2 separate regions of the Homo sapiens genome follow, and region 2 is linked to region 1. Evidence: promoter capture Hi-C in human tissues and cell types (Jung and others, 2019). All regions are on one chromosome and are shown on one strand. The core of a region is centred on a gene start or on the middle of the fragment in contact, and the rest is flanking DNA. Distances in the headings are between cores, read along the strand shown. Region 1 holds the start of SNX22 (sorting nexin 22). Region 2 overlaps USP3 (ubiquitin specific peptidase 3).

What was found. Contacts are between HindIII fragments. The study calls those that stand out against the background at their distance.
Region 2: a fragment that was not itself captured here is called in contact with the fragment with the promoter of SNX22 in region 1 in 1 of the 25 tissues and cell types used here (lymphoblastoid cells).

The regions. Positions count from the first base shown.
Region 1 is chr15:64,149,805-64,153,762 of GRCh38, reverse strand. It overlaps SNX22 (sorting nexin 22), which reads right to left and starts at 2,032. Exons shown (of 7, transcript NM_024798.3): 1 at 1,913-2,032; 2 at 1,437-1,520; 3 at 1,021-1,125; 4 at 424-518; 5 at 79-111. The coding sequence starts at 1,987. RefSeq lists enhancers at 1-83, 107-336, 3,264-3,373 and silencers at 1,327-1,706, 1,907-2,346. The HindIII fragment of the contact is 9,247 bases long and covers 1-3,958 here.
Region 2 is chr15:63,515,355-63,519,312 of GRCh38, reverse strand. The region is part of intron 1 of USP3 (ubiquitin specific peptidase 3); the gene reads right to left. Among named protein-coding and RNA genes, the nearest start is that of USP3, 13 kb to the right of the region's middle. The HindIII fragment of the contact is 5,951 bases long and covers 1-3,958 here.

The DNA.
Region 1 (3,958 bases), core at 783-3,282:
CAGGCAGCAGGCCTGCCTCCTAGCATATGGCCACTAGGGGGCAGCAGGGGCCAAGCGCGGGCTAGGGCTTTGACTTGCCTGCTGTCGCCAGGCAGGAACTCCCTCAGGGTGCTGAAGAGAAGAGAAACACTGTAAGCTGCCTGGGGATGCCGGGGGAGCGTGAGGAAGGGGTGGAGACACCAGAGCCCAGAACTGCACCTCCCAGGGGACCACTGCTTCTATTTGTAACAAGCCCCAGTTCCGGAGGTGGCGGGGGTAACCAAGTCTGTCCAAAAAAAAGCCCCTCCACCCAGGTCAAGAGAGCTGGTGAGGGCGGTCATGCTGGATCCTGGCAGATGTGAAAAGAAAGGGCTTGCCCTCCAACACCTTTCCTCACCTGCTCACTGCTGACAGCCCCTGGCCCCCGCCATCGGCCCCCCTTACCCCCAGTTGCTAGCCTTGGGGTCTGTGGGGAAGTGCCGAAGTCTCAGGAATTCCAGTAACTCCTTGGGCACCTCCTGGTTCAGGTACAGGATGCCCTGGAGAGGACAGAGGAGACCTGCAATCAGACCCAGCTACTAATTTGCATAGCGCAGTGCCAGTGAAAATGCAGGGCTCTTTGTTCCAAAAAAAGAATTTCACGACAATGACAGCAGAGCGTTGAACCAGGCTCAGGGCCCTTCTGGGCGCTGGGCGCTGTGTGCACAGGTTGTACCCCATGACGCGGCATAGCTTTGCTGTTGGGGGAAGGACCCTCACCCTACATGCCATCAGGAGGGCAGCACAGGACCTCACCATGGAGGGGACAGGACCTGGGTTTCATGGAGCTGGGACTACCTGTGTCCGTTACCTCTTTCAGTCCTTTCAACAAGCCAGAGGGGGGTGTTTGGACCTATATTAGACTCAGAAAATTGATGCTTGAGGTGGTGAATAACATCCCCAAGTTGTGGGTTCCCTCCCTGCCATGCCCCCACACCTCTCTGTCTGGGCCACACCCCTGGCACAGAAGGCCGGGGGGCAACCAACTGTGCTCTCGCATACCTGGATGTAAGCCTCCAAGCCCTGCCGGCGCTGTTCCAACCCTCTGGTCCTCCAGTTGGGCAGGCGTTTCGAGGGGAAGTCGGGCACTTTGTACAGCTTCTTGATCTACTGGAGGTTTACCGCGTGCGATCACAGCATCCCGACTGAGCCCTCAAGCCCTCTTCGCCCCAGCCAGAAGCCCTCCCGCGCCCCCGCCTTCGGGCTCTACTGGGACAGACCCTGGTGAGTGGTGGACCGGCCGAGGGCGAGGAAGGCCCCAACCCACCCACAGAGGCCCGGGGGCTGACCGGCTGCGCAGGGACTGAGGCAGTAATGGGGGTGGCGGAGGCTGGGGCTCGCCCGCCCGCCTCACAGGGCCTGGGCGGGGGCTGGACAGAGGCTGGGCCGGGGCCGGTGGGAGGTCGGCGCCGCCTCACCCGCTTGTGCAGCGCGTGGAACTCGCTGTAGCGCCTTGGCACCGTGTGTCTGCGCCCGCTGCACAGCACCTCCACTCGGAACACCTGGCGGCGCGGGCGGGCAGCGGGTCTGCGCGTGAGGCCCCGCGGGAGGACGCCGCAGCACCTGCGCCTGGCGACGTGCCCACCCTCCCGCTCTCAAAGGCACAAAGCGGCCTTGCGGCGCCGCGGCTGCCCGGGGACTCTCCGCTCCCGCACACCTGGGAGAACCGGCTGGCGGACCTGCCCCTCGGAGCCCTGGGGTCCCTCAAGAGCTCGAACCATGGTCCGCGAGGCTGGCAAATCCAAGCGGCCCCCAAACCCTCGACAAGGTTTCCCCCGACGGTCCAGCCCGCAGCGCTCGTTCACCCAGGCCCGGGCCCCGGGTCCCCACTGAGCGCAGCGCGGGGAAATCCTGCGGGTCCCGGCGCCCCTCCCCATCCAGGGGCCGCGCTCACCATGTGGCTTTTCTCCGGGCTCTGCCTGGGCCCCTCGGCCTCGGGCCCCACCGACGGGATGTGAACTTCCAGCATCCGCGCCCCGGCCCCAGCTGCTCCGCGCGCTCGGCTCGGAGCCCTAACTCTCCCGGAGCGGACTGAGGACCCCGGGGCGGCCGGCTCCGCCCCCTCGGTCCGCAGGCCCCACCCCAGGCCCCGCCCCCAGGCGACCCCGCCCCGGGCGTTCCCTTGCGCCGCGGGTCCTGAGCCTAGAAGATTAGGCGGGACCTGGACGCCGCCCCCGAAGTCTAGTGCGCCCACAGCGCGGGGCAGTGGAGTCAACCGTTTGTCAAACATTGACGGAGCACTCACTGATGCCAGGAACTGGCGAGCGAAAATGTCACCCAACCTGAGTTAAGCGCCTACCAAGGACGGCCTGTGGCTCCAGGCGCGGACGGAGGCGGGGCCCGGGCCTCAGCGCCGGTCCTGGGGCCAACCAGGGACCTGTCTTGGGTTCCTCAGTCCCTTCCCGAGCCTTTCCCTCCTTTCAGCCTGGTCCCTGAAATTGTGATCTGGATTCCCCGGCTGAGGCCACACCTGAGCAAGGCTTGGACCCAGTCCAGCTTTGATGCCCCTTTCCCCAGCATCCACAGGCCCCCCCATTCATTCATTGTTTTCATCCATCCATTCACTCATATCTTCCAACCCTAAGGGGCTCCAGGCTGTTTGTGGGGAAGAGGCAGTTTAGGGACCTAGACTCCGATTTGGACGTCAGACTGCCTGGATTTCAGGAGCTCCGTAGACCTTTGCTCATCTGCAAAATAGGGATAACGTGGCTCCTTCAGGCAAGTGTATAAAGTGAGATGATTTGGCCGGGCGCGGTGGCTCACGCCTGTAATCCCAGCACTTTGGGAGGCCGAGGTAGGCGGATCACCTGAGGTCAGGAGTTCGAGACCAGCCTGACCAACATGGTGAAACCCCGTACCTACTAAAAATACAAAAATCAACCAGGTGTGGTGGCACATGCCTGTAATCCCAGCTACTCAGGAGGCTGAGGCGGGAGAATCACTTGAACCTGAGAGGCGGAGGTTGCAGTGAGCCGAGATCAAACCATTGCACTCCAGACTGGGCAACAGCAAGACTCTGTCTTAAAAAAAAAAAAAAGTGAGATGATTCATGTTAGGCCCTTAACAGAAGCATTGAGCAGCAGCTTGACTGTGGGCTTCTCCTGGATGACTAGGATAAGTGGGCACAGGGCAGTGGATGGGAAGAGAGACTTTGGGGGGTGGCACCGGGTTGCTCTTGTCCACCCCTCCGGGCAGGTTCTTCCTGGATATGTGGCAGGATTTTGATCCAGAACTCTCTCAGGCCATGTGCTGGAAAGGACCTCTGCTCCCACCTCTCAGCCCTGCACCCTTCAGCTGTCGGAGAGCTGCTATCAGCAGCACCATGGCAGGTCCTCTACTCCACTGACTTCCCCCACAAAGGCCCCGTGACATGCAGAGAGGCGAGGCCCTGCCTTCCAAAGCTCATACGTAGTGGGAGGTCTTGGGGTGGGCAGGAGGAAGCAGAGTGCCTGTCTTCGGGGCTGGGGTTGAGGGGACTCACCCCTCCCCTGCTTCTGCAGAGACGCCTCTGAGCTGGAGCAAAAAACCTCCATCCCCAGCCCTGCCCCCAGAGAAGGGCTGAGATGACGACCCCAAAATGGGGCAAACAGGTCTCACCAATATCATGTCCCACATTCTCTTTTTCCAAATTGCATCACACAAGGACCACAGAATCAGGAAGCTGAAACTTCCCAGATTCTAGTGGGGTCCCCTAGAAGAAAAGCAGCCCAGAGTGAGGAGAAGTGCTGTGCTTTCATTTCCTCCCTACGGCCCCATCATTCAGGGACCCAGCTTTCCCTGGCCTACAGGGCCTCCCCAACTCCCACTGTCCAGGGAGGCCTCTCCTGGGATCCTCAGACTTCTTGGTCCTCATCCTAATGACTGTCTGCCCCTCTGTCTGTGAGTCTCCATTTTTTCCTGCCTTCATCCCCAATAGAACGTCCATTCTCTACCCTGCAGC
Region 2 (3,958 bases), core at 713-3,212, 630 kb after region 1:
AACAAAGGCTGAGGAACTATTGGAGATGAAAGAAAACTAAAGAGCTATGACAACTAAATATAACACATGATCCTGGATTAGATCCAGGGTGGCTGGGGAGGTAAACAGAAAGGAGTAATAGCTATGAAGGCCATTGTTGGGACAATTGAGGAAATCTGAACATGGAATGTGCATTAGGTAACAGCATTCTATCAGTATCAACTGTCCTGATTTGACCAATATTCTCTGCTGATTGAAAAGAAAGACCCGGCCAGGCGCGGTGGCTCACGCTTGTAATCCCAGCACTTTGGGATGCTGAGGCGGGCAGATCATGAGGTCAAGAGATCCAGACCATCCTGGTTAACACGGTGAAACCCCATATCTACTAAAAATACAAAAAATTAGCCGGGCGTGGTGGTGAGTGCCAGTAGTCCCAGCTACTCAGGAGGCTGAGGCAGGAGAATGCTGTGAACCTGGGAGGCGGAGCTTGCAGTGAGCCGAGATCACGCCACTGCACTCCAGCCTGGGCAACGGAGCAAGACTCCGTCCCAAAAAAAAAAGAGACCTGTTCTTGGGGAAAAACAAAACTATGGATAAAGGAGTGTTATATCTGTAAATTAATAAGGGGAAATATATAAACAGAGAGTAAATATATACATGATAAAACAAATGAGGCAAAATGTGAACGACTGGCAAATCTAAGTATACGGAAGTTCTTTGTATGTACTATTCTTAGCAGTGTTTCTCTGAGTATAAAATTATATCAAAATCAAAAGTCTTTTTAAATTCTGAGATTAAAAATCTGTGTCCTTTACTTCCAATTAAGATCATACTTTTTAAAAACTAAAACACAAGGGAGAAGGTTAAATTACCAATGTACAGAGCCAAAAATCCTATAAACCTGGCACTAACTTGCCTTCATTAATGAATGATGAGCTAGTCCAATAAAAGTATTACAATGCATTAACTGCAGTAGTCCCAATGACCTTACAACTTTCTTTCACAGGCATATACCTATCCAAAGCCTGGCTTGTGATCTGACTTTCCAAGCAAGGTCGAACCCCCTGGCTTGCCTATTTTCTCTGCTGACTCTGATAACAGCAACAATATTTTGTTCTATTTATCAGAGAAGGTAAATCTGAATATAAATTTTTATTCAAATAGATTAATGTAAAATTTCAGTTCAATGATTTAACTCTGAGTAACTAATAAGATCCATTTCTGATAGGGCAAAACACTGTGCCCTAAAAACAGGATTACAAATGATATACATTTAAAAATGGACACTAAACTAAACGTGGCAAATTCTACTTAGCTCTTCTCCCACCTAAGACCCACTTAAATGACAATAAAGGAAAAAAACAGATACAAACCCACAAAGATAAAGAGAACAGTGTGAGGTAACCAAAGCAGACAAAAGATTTCAACAGCTTTTTGTAAGTGAGAAAGAAGTTAGGGGAGCAATAACAATCTTAGTAGTGCAGAGGAAGCTATGGCCTGAGTGTCAGCCAGGAAGAATGCAGATGGGAGGAGCTCTAGGTATAGGGACACAGCAGACAGCAGGTAAGGACAGGACTGAACACAAGGAGACTAGGGACTCTAAGGACAACTGAGTCATGGAACTTCTGCAATCTGATCTCAGAACATCAGTGGCCAGGTGCCCACCTCCCAGAGGGAAAACCGAAAAACTCAATGGTACCAGAAAAAATTCTCAGCACAGATATGAGTGTCTTCCTCCAATGAAGGTGACTTGCTCCCCACCTCACAGTGAAGCCCACTGTGGACAAGCCCCACCCAGTTACAAAGCTTTTTACATGAAAAAGTTCACTGTTATATGAAAAGACAAAGACAAAACAGATCTTTATAGAAAACCTCCAATCTGAAAGAATCATTTTAAAAAGAAAAAGAGGAACCCAGGAGAAATAGAAACCATACAGGGAGCACAGCAAAACTTCAAAACCAACATACTCTGAACTGCTGGAGTGGTAAGAGAAGATACTGCAAAACAATAGCAAGAGGATATGTGAAAAAGGAATGATTGGGAAATGAGAAAGAGCTCTTAAAATTTTTAAATACAATGATCAAAATTCAACAGAAGGAATGGAAGAAAAAATATCAAGGAAATTGGGGGGAGTGGGGAGGGATAGCATTAGGAGATATACCTAATGTTAAATAAGCCTAATGACGAGTTAATGGGTGCAGCACACCAACATGGCACATGTATACATATATAACTTACCTGCACATTGTGCACATGTACCCTAAAACTTAAAGTATAATATAATAAAAAAAAAAATCAAGGAAATATACCAGAAACTAGAACCAAAAGGCAAAGAAATAAGAAAATCAGAGACTACACTCAGGACACCCAACATCCAACTAATAAGAGTTCCAGAAAGAAAAAAAAGAATAAATTGGGGGATATAAGTATGGGGGGAGGAGCACACTATCAAATTTATAGTACAAAAAAATGTCTTTTAACTCAAGGATGTGAACCTATACATAAAAAAATCCCTTCACTTCCTATTAAAAATAAAATAAAAAAAAAACTACCCATGCCCAGCCATATTTTGAAATTTCAGAATACAGAGGATGAAAAGAATACCTTAAAGAATTATAGGAAAAAGAATAAAAGGACATATGTGGAGGAGGAAATCAGGAAGGCATCAGGTTTCTCAACAGCAACTCTGGGAGCCTAGAAACAAACCAACAATGCCTTTAAAACTCTAAAGGAAAATTATTTTCTTACTAATATTTTCTATTCAGCCAAGCAATCAAGTATAAAGGTAAAATAAAAATGTCAGACTTGCAAAGGCTCAAAAATTTACCTCCCTTAATGTGCCATGCAATTAGAGAAAAAAAAATTACCTCCTGTGAGAAAGGAGCTTGATGTACTCCAGCAAAACAATGAAATAAACCAAGAAAAACAAGACATGGGATCCAAGAAATAAGGGATCTAATATTATAAGAGAACAACAGAGGGAATCACACGATAAAAACTGTCCAGCCTGGAGAACTATTTCAAATGACAGCAGAGGTCAGAGGGCTCTGGAAAGGATTTTAGAAAAGAGTTAGTGCTTGGAGATTATCTAATCCGTTGAATGGGTTAAAAAATAATATTCACAGACCTTTGACAGGTTTAAAGGAACATTTAAGAGAAAATGTGTCTAAGGTAAACTAAGCAATTTTTAAAAGAGGCAATTATTGACTCAAGAAAAAATAAAATGTTGGACAAGAAAGAAAAATGAATCACTATAGTAACCAAAATATGTAATCTAATTATATTGGGAAATGGAGAGACTGAAGGGCAAGTGGTGCAAACACTGAAGTCTTCATTTACCACAGCAAGATATCAAGGAATAATACCTAAAAATGACAAATTAAGAAATAACAGAGCATTGGTTAGAATTATGCAGGTAAATATGAGAGAGAATGCTAAATAGAGCCTACAGAGATTGTCTGTGGACAGCAGGACTGAGAGTGGAGGCGAGGAAGACTAAAATTCTATTTTAAGCCCTTTGATACTATTACCTGTCTCTGTATATTTCAGAAATGTGTATTACTGTTCTGAAAACATGAATTAATCTTCATATGGTAAATTGATGTAACATAACAATTCATGAAATTGCTCAATTTTTATCTTTTTTATTAAAAAGTCTAAAATATATTACACAGCATAAAAATTAGAATAGCAGTTTATCATTTGGGGTCAGGCACCTACTGAATTCCTTATTCCCACTGCAGAGTTAATGATATGTGTCCTCCACTAGCAAATGTAATTTCAAAGCTGGCCAAAACTTGTCATCTATATGTTAAGAGATCCAGATACCTACAGAGCCAAAGAAGAGAGGGGCATCTGGTCCTGCTGACTTCCCACACAGAGGCAAATTCTGGTCCACGGGGCTGCCCCCAACCCCCAACTGGCTGTAGCATTTTACTCTATTTTTAAATGGATTCCTTATGCTTTCACCATGAAATG